Regions from separate parts of the Homo sapiens genome. Here region 2 is linked to region 1. Evidence: promoter capture Hi-C in human tissues and cell types (Jung and others, 2019). All regions are on one chromosome and are shown on one strand. Each heading gives the region's core, a stretch centred on a gene start or on the middle of the fragment in contact. The rest is flanking DNA. Distances are from core to core; before and after follow the strand shown. Region 1 holds the start of BMPR2 (bone morphogenetic protein receptor type 2). Region 2 holds the start of CARF (calcium responsive transcription factor).

Region 1 (5,058 bases), core at 1-2,500:
GGGACGTGCCGGCCGGAGCTACTCACCAGCCGCAGTGCTGACCAGCAGGATGGTCCATGGTAGCCAGGGCACCCGCCAGGGCCGCTGCAGCGAGGAAGTCATCCCTGGGCCAGCCAAGAATCAGGAGGGCAAAGAAAAGAAATATGGGAAGTAGACCGGCGGAGAAACAGCCGGGAGGCTCGTCTTCTCTCCCGTGGACTGATCCTGCCCGTATCACAATACAGTTTGAAAGGACAAATGGCTGATGAGAGGACCTAGCTGCAGAGCTTTCATGCCGCTGCAGAAATTCCCTTCATTTCTCTCCCTCGCGGCTGGGGGGGTTCCTTCGCCTCGGACGGGGTGCCGCGGCCCTCCAAACGGAAGGCATGTCTGTGGGGAAAGCAGGGAGCCAAGAAGAAATCCCCCAAATTATTTCCCTCGTAGTTTCACGATATCAAAAAAATATCCAGGTCTGGGAGAAAACATATCCAGGGTGCGGAGGGCGGGGATTCGATCCGGGGTCGGGGGGCGAGGGTCAGAACTAGTTCCCGACTGCCGGGAAGGACGAAGCCGGACGGGCGGCGGCGGCGCCCGGCAGCCCTAGTCGCATCGCCCGCGGCTCCGGGAAGGCAGGATTCCTTAAGTTTCGCTTCGGTGCTTCCTTCACTCTGATTTCGAAAACAACAAATCCTCTTCCTTGACTGGATCAAAAAAGGTGCCTGCCTCCATGGACAAGCTCACAGTCCCCACGCCTTCGCAGAACAACCGTGAGAGGGTTGGGGAGGCCCTGGCGAAGGCTGAGGAGAGGTAGGAGCGGGGGAGGGGAGGGGTCGCGGTCGCGGCCCCGGTCCGGGCTCCCCGAGACGGCAGGCGGAGTGGGTGTGAGAGGCTGCCCCTTCTAGTCCTCCCGGCGGCGCTCCCTTCCCTTCCTCGCTTTTTATTCCTGCGGCTCGATCTTGCCTGAGGTAAATTCCACCAAGAAAGCCTCCTCTTCTCCCGTCAATGGCTCCTGTGAGCGAATCACAACCCCCCGAGGAAGCCGCTGCTGCTGCCGCCGCCGCCGCCGCCGCCGCCGCCGCCGCCGCCTCGTTCTCCCGCAGCTCTGGGCTCCTGACGGAACTCGGGCGTCGCGGACCGAGGGCGGGGGGCGGCGGGAGGGCGGATGAAGGTAGCCGGGGAAGGGGGTGGGCAGGGAGGCGGCGAGACACCCTGCGTCCCTCCGGGAGGCACTTCCAGTGGCTCCGAGCAGACCAGACACAAAGGGGGGAGTCGCCGCAGCTGCCAGTCTGCGGCGCTCCCGGTCACCGGAGTCGCCCCGCCTCCGCCGCCGCCTCCGCCTCCTCCTCAGTCTCCGGCTCTTCCCGGCCCTGTCTGTCTCTAGCCTGTGGTGCAGAGCGGGCGGCGGCGGCGGCGGCGCCGGCGGCGGGATGAAGCCCGCACTGCGCCTGCGCGCTCACGGCCCCGCCCGGCCCCGCCCCTCGTTCGGGGCTGGCTGAGGGCTCCGAGGCCCCACCGCAGCGCGTCTCTCCGGTGAATGGCCGAGGGCTGGGTGGGGCTGCGGTGGGCAGCGGTGGCCTTTCTCCTTCACACACATACACATGCCTTCCAAATGTGCATGGCTTGGGATTCGCGTATTTGTTTAAGAGACGACGGCCACATCCTTTTGTTCGGCGTTCAGCAGACTCCTCCGAGTTCCGGGATTTCTCCCGACTGAGGCGTCTCCGTCTCAGTACTCTCGGAGGAAAGCCTCGAGGGGCAGAACTGCCCTCTGTTGTTTCACGGGGCTGGAACCTCCCTCTCCGCAGCCCAAAGAATCCGGATGGACCCGCCTTTCCCAGAACCGGAGACCTTGGCCTCCTCAGGCTCCCCTCTGACTCAAACAAAAGCCGGAATTGGAAAGACCACCCCTTTGATGTGTTCGCTGTAATCGACGTCCTGCTTTCCTCAACCGCCCATTCCCTTAGCCTTCTTAGTTGACAGGAATATTGAGTATTTGCAAGGATGCGAAGCCAGAAAAAAAAAAAAGACTTTTAATTCTATAAATCGTCCCGCTGCGTGCGCGCGTCTGTCCGTACAGCGCGGTGCCCACCCCGAGAGAGGGCCTGGATTCACCAAGGCTGGGGGCCTTGAGGGCTTTTTAGGGCACGTGAAAGGAAAATGGAGTTAGAGTTGTGTCGGGATAGAGAGTGGGATCATTTTGCACTCAAGGAATTGAGAAGATCCCGTTGGTACCGCAGTTTCCAAGGATTTGTGTAGTGCGTTTTTTGGATCTGGTTTGTACAAGCGACCAGTATAGGAGACGGGATCCCTCCCGCCCTTACACCCCGCTGCGGGGTCAGCCGACGTGGGTGGGATTTTGCTGGCGGCGAGGGGAGAAGGTGACGTGCGTGGCGCCATGATCGGAAGTCTGGACTGAATTCTTAGCTGCGAGGTGGAAAATGCGCGTGGGAGGGCGATCTTGAGGGGTGAAGTCTGGCCTTCCCATCTCCTACCAGGCAGGAGGGTTATGCTGAAGGCTGGTTTTGCTGGTCTTTCATTGTGGCTAAGGGCAGTTCCACAGATACAGTCATAGATAGACTCCTTAAGTCATGCTCTGCTTGCTTCTTCTAGTCCGCTGTTACCTCTTTATCTGAATTTGATGTAAATAAATCTCCACATTCCTTAAACTGGTTCTGTTATACTAAACATCTTCCATAATTAGGGGTTGTAGCAATACCAACCCCGGATTCTAAGACTCTTTTTAGTTGAAATATGTTTATGCTGTTTACCCTTTAGACAGAGAAAAAAAAATTCTACCTAGTAAAATCCCTTAAAAAGACGAAGAGCATATGCTTTGATTCATTAGCTTTATTTATTTAGGTTTTATTTATTTATTTATTTATTTATTGAGGCGGAGTCTTGCTCTGTCGACCAGGCTGCGGTGCAGTGGCGCGATCTCGACTCACTGCAACCTCCACCTCCCAGGTTCAAGCAATTCTCCGGCCTGAACCTCCCGAGTAGCTGAGATTACAGGCGGCGCCATCACGCCCGGCTAATTTTTGTATTTTTAGTGGAGACAGGGTTTCACCATGTTTGCCAGGCTGGTCTCGAACTCCTGACCTCACGTGATCCGCCCGTCTCGACCTCCCAAAGTGCTGGGATTACAGACGTGAGCCACCGCCCCCGACCGATTCTTTATAGCTTTATTACTGTATTTTGTTTTGCCCAAAAGGTCTAAATTAGAAACGGTATTGTTTTACCATTTGTCTTTCAAGAACTGAGAGTTTCTAGCACTCAGAGAAATTGGATTTTAGTATGTTAGAGGTGCAGAAAGTTTAAAGTTTATTAATTCGTAGTACACTTTTATCTTCCTCAAATTGAGATCAAGTACTTCATCATTCAATTTTTATTTGCTTAAGATTTTTTCCAAGAAACATTAAGTGTCCTTTTTGTAGTTCCCCCTTATCCACCGTTTCAGTTACCTGCAGTCAACCACGGTCTGAAAATATTACATGGAAAGTTCCAGAAATAATAAGTGGTGTTTTTTTTTGTTGTTGTTGTTTTTGTTTTTTTTGAGACGTAGTTTCTCTTTTGTTGCCCAAGCTGGAGCACAATGGCACGATCTCAGCTCACAGCAACCTCCGCCTCCCAGACTCAAGCGATTCTCCTGCCTCAGCCCCCTGAGTAGCTGGGATTACAGGCATGCGCCACCACACCCGGCTAGTTTTGTATTTTTAGTAGAGATGGAGTTTCACCATGTTGGTCAGCCTGGTCTCGAACTCCTGACCTCAGGTGATCCGCCCTTCTGGCCTCCCAAAATGATAGGATTAGAGGCGTGAGCCACTGCGCCTGGCCTCATAAATTTTAAATTGAGTACTGTTACTAACTAGCTGTGAGGAAATCGCTGCCATCCCACACTGTCCTTCTGGGATGTGAATCATGGTTTGTACAGTGTATCCGCTATAACCTCCTTAATCACTTAGTAGCAGTCTCTTATCAGACTGACTGTGGCAGTATGCAATATCCAAGTGCTTGTGTTCAACTAACCCTCGTTTTACTTAATAATGGCCCCAAAGCACAAGAGTAGTGATGCTGGCAATTCAGCCATACAGAAGCTGTAAAGTGCTTCCTGTAAGTTAAAACGTCAGAGTTCTTGCCTGTAATCTCAGCACTTTGGGAGGCCGAGGCAGGCAGATCACAAGGTCAGGATGATCGAGACCATCCTGGCTAACACGGTGAAACCCTGTCTCTACTGAAAATACAAAAAAATTAGCCAGGCGTGGTGGCAGGCGCCTGTAGTCCCAGCCACTCGGGAGGCTGAGGCAGTGAATGAATGGCATGAACCCGGGAGGTGGGGCTTGCAGTGAGCCGAGATCATGCCACTGGACTCCAGCCTGGGCGACAGAGCAAGACTCTGTCTCAAAAAAAAAAAAAAAAAAAAAAAAAAAAAAAAAAAAAAAGTCAGAGTTCTTGACTTAATAAGGAGGGAAAAAAATTATAGGCTGAGGTTGCTAAGATTGCTGGTAACAATGAATCTTTGGCAGGGTGCAGTGGCTCACGTCTGTAATCCCAGCACTTTGGGGGACCAAGGCAGGAGGATCACTTGAGGTCAAGAGTTCAAGACCTGCCTGGCCAACATGGTGAAACCCCGTCTATACCAAAAATACAAAAATTAGCTGGGAGTGGTGGCACGTGCCTGTAATCCCAGCAGCTACTCCGGAGGCTGAAGCAAGAGAATCACTTGAACGCAGGAGGTGGAGGTTGCCCATTGCACTCTAGCCCGGGCGATAGAGACTCTGGCAAAAAAAAAAAAAAAAATCTATCTGTGAAACTGAATTGTGAAGAAAAAATAAATTCATGCTAGTTTTGCTGCCATACCTCAAACTGCAAAAGTGATGGCCACAATGTGTAATAAGTGCTTAGTTAAGATGGAAAAGGCATTAAATTTGTGGGTAGAAGACATAATAGAAATGTATTCCAGTTTATAGCAATTGGGTTCAGTACTGTCTGCAGTTTCAGGCATCCACTGGAGGTCTTGGAACAAGTTCCTTGTGGATAAGGGGCAGGGAGGACTACCGTACATGTTATAAATGTATGATA
Region 2 (5,458 bases), core at 541-3,040, 540 kb before region 1:
CCTAGCTACTGGGGAGGTTGAGGCAGGAGAATCGCTTGAACCTGGGAAGCACAGGTCGCAGGGAGCCAAGATTGTGCCACGGCACTACAGCCTGGCGACAGAGTGAGACTCTGTCTCAAAAATAAATAAATAAATAAATAAATAAATAAATAAAATATTGCTCAAAAGTACTTTAGAAAGTAAAATTTACCGCATCTTTTAGAGGTAAATGACATAACATTCCTTTTATAATATGTACAAAATTACTATGAATCAGTGGTGTCAAAAATGAAATCAAGACTAATTCACAAATATTTTAATAGGATAATTTATTTTTTAAGAATCAGTTTTTAAAGTTATGTTAAACATCGAACTTTTAAATGCATGCAATTATATATAAACAATAACCTATATTAATTTTTAAATTTTCTGCTGGATGCAGTGGCTCATGCCTGTAATCCCAGCGCTTTGGGAGTCTAAAGTGGGCGGATCTTGAGGTCAGGAGTTGGGAGGCCAGCCTGGCCAACATAGTGAAACCCTGTCTCTACTTAAAAAAAAACAAAAAAAAACAGGCTAGGTGCAGTGGCTCATGCCTGTAATCCCAGCACTTTGGGAGGCTGAGCAGATGGATCACAAGGTCAGGAGATTGAGACCATCCTGGCCAACATGATAAAACCCTGTGTCTACCAAAAATACAAAAATTAGCTGGGCGTGGTGGCGTGTGCCTGTAATCCCAGCTACTCGGGAGGCTGAGGCAGGGGAATTGCTTGAACCAGGGAGTTGGAGGTTGCAGTGAGCCAAGATTGCACCACTGCACTCCAGCCTGGTGACAGAGCCAGACTCCATCTCAAAAAGAAAACAAAACAAAATACAAAAATCAGCTGGGAGTGGTGGCAGGAGCCTGCAATCGCAGCTATTGGGGAGGCTGAAACACGGATCACTTGAACCTGGAAGGCAGAGGTTGCAGTGAGATGAGATCATGCCACTGCATTCCAGCCTGGGCAACAGAGCAAGACTCCACCTCAACCAGTACAGTGGCTCACGCCTGTAATCCCAGCACTTTTGAAGGCCGAGGTGGGAAGATCACAAGGTCAGGGGATCGAGACCATCCCGGCCAACATGGTGAAACCCCTTCTCTACTAAAATACAAAAAATTAGCCGGGCATGGTGGCAGGCACCTGTAGTCCCAGCTACTCGGGAAGCTGAGGCAGGAGAATCGCTTCAACCTGGAAGGCGGAGGTTGCAGTGAGCTAAGATAGCGCCACTGCACTCCAGCCTCGCGACAGAGGGAGACTCTGAAAAAAAACAAAAAACCAAAAACAAAACAACAAACACCACCACCACCACCAAAAAACCCTCCAACTCAAAAAATAAAAAAATAAAAAAAAGCACTTTTTAATTTTCAGGGAAAAAAAATCTAAGGCTGGTGTTCACAATGTCAATTTTATTTATGGTTTATTCTCACTATAAGCTTCCCTGCAATCCATTTCTACCCATGTTTTACTCTGCACAAACTTTTTACCTTTTTGCTCTGATTTTTTGTTTGTTTTTTTTTTTTGAGATGGAGTTTCACTCTTTTTGCCCAGGCTGGAGTGAAGTGGCGTGATCTTGGCTTACTGCAAACTCCACCTTCCAGGTTCAAGCAATTCTCCTGCCTCAGCCTCCCCAGTAGCTCGGATTATAGGCACCCCCCACCATGCCTGGCCAATTTTTGTATTTTTAGCAGAGACGGGGTTTCACCATGTTGGCCAGGCTGGTCTCAAACTCCTGACCTCAGGTGCTCCACCCGCCTCAGCCACCCAAAATGCTGGGATTAGGCTGCTCTTTGAGAGCTTTACAAATTTATTTAATCCTTACAATGACTCTGAGGTAGATCTTCTTGTCTCTGTTTGTAGATAAGAAAACTGGAACTGTCAAGAAACTTGCTTAAGATCACAGAGTGCATTAGGCTTGGATCCATAATCAAATTGGAAAAAAAGAAAAACACAAAGAACAATTAAGACTCCAAAGCCCTAATGCATAGTCTTTGTATCCTATCACACTGTGGCATTATATATATAAAACAAAAAACTTTATAATAAAGAGAAATGTATTTTCCAAACTGTGGTTCTCCAGATAACAATGTGTCTCCATGAGGACCATATAGTAAATACATCCCATAAAAAATGATTACCAACCAAAAGCTTGCAATTAATGTTCCAACTAAAGAAAAAGACTCAAAGTAAAAGCATCAGCTATCCTAGGTACTGTTTGGAGGCAACACCAAACACGACACATAAATCATTGTTGAAAAAAACCGTAAAACATAATGCTGGGTATTTAGTTATGTTGAATGCTAAAACTAATCTTTCCTTAACTAAAGGTCTCCGTCAAATGAAAAGTGTATTTTAGTCAAGTCAGGATTTCTGTTTTGCAAACTGAAAGTCTTATATTATTAAGCATATATTCAGGTTATTTTCCTGATCATAATTTTCAAATCAAATTAAGATCAAACTCTACTGTCAGGTACTGTATATTCTCATTTTGATAAATTTCAAATTAATGATAAAAATGTATTAACCTGCTGGTCAATTATACATTTTATAAATATATTTTAACCAATGACATATTACCAGTAAGTACAGATTCAACGGCAAGATTTCATTAAGAAAGTGTTTCAAGCTTCAGATGCCCAAGACTTATTTAATGTGTAAATCCTCACCACTACAATAACCACATGGTTAAACGATCACCACTTCCATTAGCAAGCTCAAGCCTAATAAGTGATCTCCTGGGACTTCAGCACAGAGGTTTTCTAATTTTATTCCTCCACTCAATGTGGCTATTCTCCCTTATCTATTCACGCTGGCAAAGCTTCTAGTTAAACTGGAATTAGTAACTATTTGATGATAATAATTAACATATACTGAGTGCTTCCGATGCCGCAGTTAATTCTTATAGTTGATAAAAGTGTGGCACAAAAAGGTTAATCAAGTAGCAGAGGCAGGATTTGAACCCAGGAATTCTGGTTCCAGGGCCCGGATTCGGAGCTACAAAGGTGAGTAAACTGAAAAGAGTCCTACTTTTATTGTCATTGCTCTCTAATAAAAATTATTTTTTCTTCCAATTGTTTAAATCTCTTCTCATTCTCTATTTAAATATTAGGCGTTCATTTAAACATTAGGCGTCTACCTTACAGTAGGACATCTTTAAACAACGTAAAAAAGGAAAGCTTTGTCTTCACCTGCACACATACCGGTCTGCCCATAAATTTTGCAATCCAGTTCTGCCTGATTCTAAACTGCTTGTCTCTTGAAGCGAATGCCTTAAAAAGTGACATTGGGATCAGGATAGTTATCTCCATCCATCCTCCCTCAGAAAAACAACTATATTAGAGTAATTCTTGGGACCATTGAGAACAATACACAGGCCTTTGGGTAACTTCAAGACAAAAAAGGCAAAAAGTCGGGGAGAAGGTGTGGGAGGATGATTTTCCCCTTCTAAACGTAAGGTATAAAAGGGCTCAGAAAGCGGAAAAAGAACCCTAAAAAGCAAGGTGCGGGACGGCGTGAGGGACCACACATTGGGCGCTCCGCCCAAGGGGTCCGGCTCCTTCTCCGCGGCGATGGCGCGTCCTTGGGCTCAGCAACCCTCCTGAAGACACCTAACCTCCTCCTTCTCCAGCCTGCCCCTCTGGGGCCTGCGAGCCCCGTCCCGGGCCGGGGGTCGGAAGCCGTGCCATGTGGGACCCCGAAAAGGCCCCCAAGCTTGGCGCGGAAGGCGCCGCCAGTGACCGGCTGCGGCTGGGGGCGGAGGCCGGCAGTTGCTCGGAGCTCCGGCGGGTCAGGAGGTGACGGGAGGAGGAGGAGGCAGGAGGAAGACGGGGGGTTGGGAGGTAGCGTCCGGTAGGTCTGCGCAGACAGCGCTGCCAGACCTCTGACTCCCCCAGTCCTGCCGCCGCCGATAGCCCCACAAGGCGACATGGGAAGTCCGCCGGAGCAGAGGGGAGAAAATTCAAAACGAGTCTACTCAACCTCGTCTTGGCTCCGAGGCCCCGCCATGGAGACCAGCATAATGCGCAGGCGCGCCCCACCGGGAGCGCGCAGAGCAGTCCCACGACAGTAGGACCACTATCGGCCACCGTCGACCGTTTCCTCTCTCATCCGTTCTTTTCTTTGTATTTCCGCCTCTCGCCTCTCTCTAAAAGCCGCAGTTAGAGGCGAGATTTAGGAAAAACCTCTGCCGAGTGAGCCTCTGGTTGGGAATATGTATGAGAAAAAAAAACTGGCAAGGCGTTAGTCAAGCAAAGCTGAAGGCAGAGGAAATTTGATATCTGGCTGGAGTCTAGAGGATTTAATGCAAATAAGATACTCTGAGGGCAGCGTGGCAAAAAAAGACTACAATTCCCGGTGGTCACAGCGTTTGAGAAGCGATGCTTTCTGAGACTTGTAGTAACTAGGAGCTGTGTTTGAACTATCCAGGCTCAGGACAGCCTCTTGAAAAAAAATTTTTTATTAATAAAGCGGATTTGAGTGGGATCTTTTTCCTAATCGATTACGGGCCCACACGTATGGGAAGAATTCTAACAATGATTAAAGGGACATGCTACCTTTACGACTATCCTTTTCTAATCGATGACTCCTAAATCTAGGAGTAGGTAGTCGATGTTTGTGGTCTGGGCGTCTGTAGAAGGGCAACCTCGTGCTTTCTGCAGAGGAGACCGGAGGGCAGAAGGCAGAGTCCAGGCTTAGACTGCAGTTCCTCGCTTACCTGTGCAGTCTAATTTTGAGCTGCCTCTTTGTAGTCTTAAAAGGCAGGAGCTTCGTGTTGTGGGTCTGCTAACCCGTACGTTTCCGTGGGCAAGTCGTGTGTACTCCTCGCCATGGCTCAGCTCCAAACACGCTTCTACACTGATAACAAGAAGTAAGTAAGCGTTCCAGCCTTCTCTCCCTTCCCCAGGTTCCTTTCCGACCACCCCTTTGGTATGACCTTGTGGATCCCTGGTTGTTTCTGCTGTCACCCCCACCCTTTTTTCTGAGATTACCTGCTTTCTAACCAGCTTCGTAGGTTCTATATAATTTGAATTGTGAGTGTGGAGGAGGCTGAAGGGCTTCAGGTTTGCTTTCTGAATGAAACATTTTATATGTGTAATTTAAAAATGAACAGTGGGCCTTGTTATAGGGTGTCTGCTAGTGGTGGTTCACAGTTTTTGAAAACGGAAAAAAAGTTTTTGAAAATGAAAAAACATATTTACCATTTATGTATATCTATATAGATATATAAACATTTTAACCAGTGGTCTCAAGGTCTGTTAGCACTCATTCGAAAACTAATTATATGCTGCCTTGTGGTATATATTGCATTGTTAGCTTTCTTTGTGTTTGCCTGGTCTCTTCCAACTATATTGGAAGTCTCTTGAGGGCAGGGACTATATATTAATTAAGCTTCTTGGATTGGCTGAGTCAACAAAAAATGTCAAATTTTTCAGTGAAAATGATAA

What was found. Contacts are between HindIII fragments. The study calls those that stand out against the background at their distance.
Region 2: a contact is called between a fragment that was not itself captured here and the fragment with the promoter of BMPR2 in region 1, in 1 of the 25 tissues and cell types used here (hippocampus).

Annotation. Positions count from the first base shown.
Region 1 is chr2:202,372,519-202,377,576 of GRCh38, reverse strand. BMPR2 (bone morphogenetic protein receptor type 2) reads right to left here and starts at 1,250. Exons shown (of 13, transcript NM_001204.7): 1 at 27-1,250. The coding sequence starts at 102. RefSeq lists enhancers at 1-688, 1,843-2,132, 2,243-2,402 and silencers at 743-802, 873-932, 1,063-1,552, 1,703-1,752. The HindIII fragment of the contact is 15,181 bases long and covers 1-5,058 here.
Region 2 is chr2:202,910,859-202,916,316 of GRCh38, reverse strand. CARF (calcium responsive transcription factor) reads right to left here and starts at 4,042. Exons shown (of 17, transcript NM_024744.17): 1 at 3,215-4,042. WDR12 (WD repeat domain 12) reads left to right here and starts at 4,644. Exons shown (of 13, transcript NM_018256.4): 1 at 4,644-4,881. The coding sequence starts at 4,841. RefSeq lists enhancers at 3,762-3,811, 3,912-4,111, 4,152-4,301, 4,312-4,461. The HindIII fragment of the contact is 3,337 bases long and covers 122-3,458 here.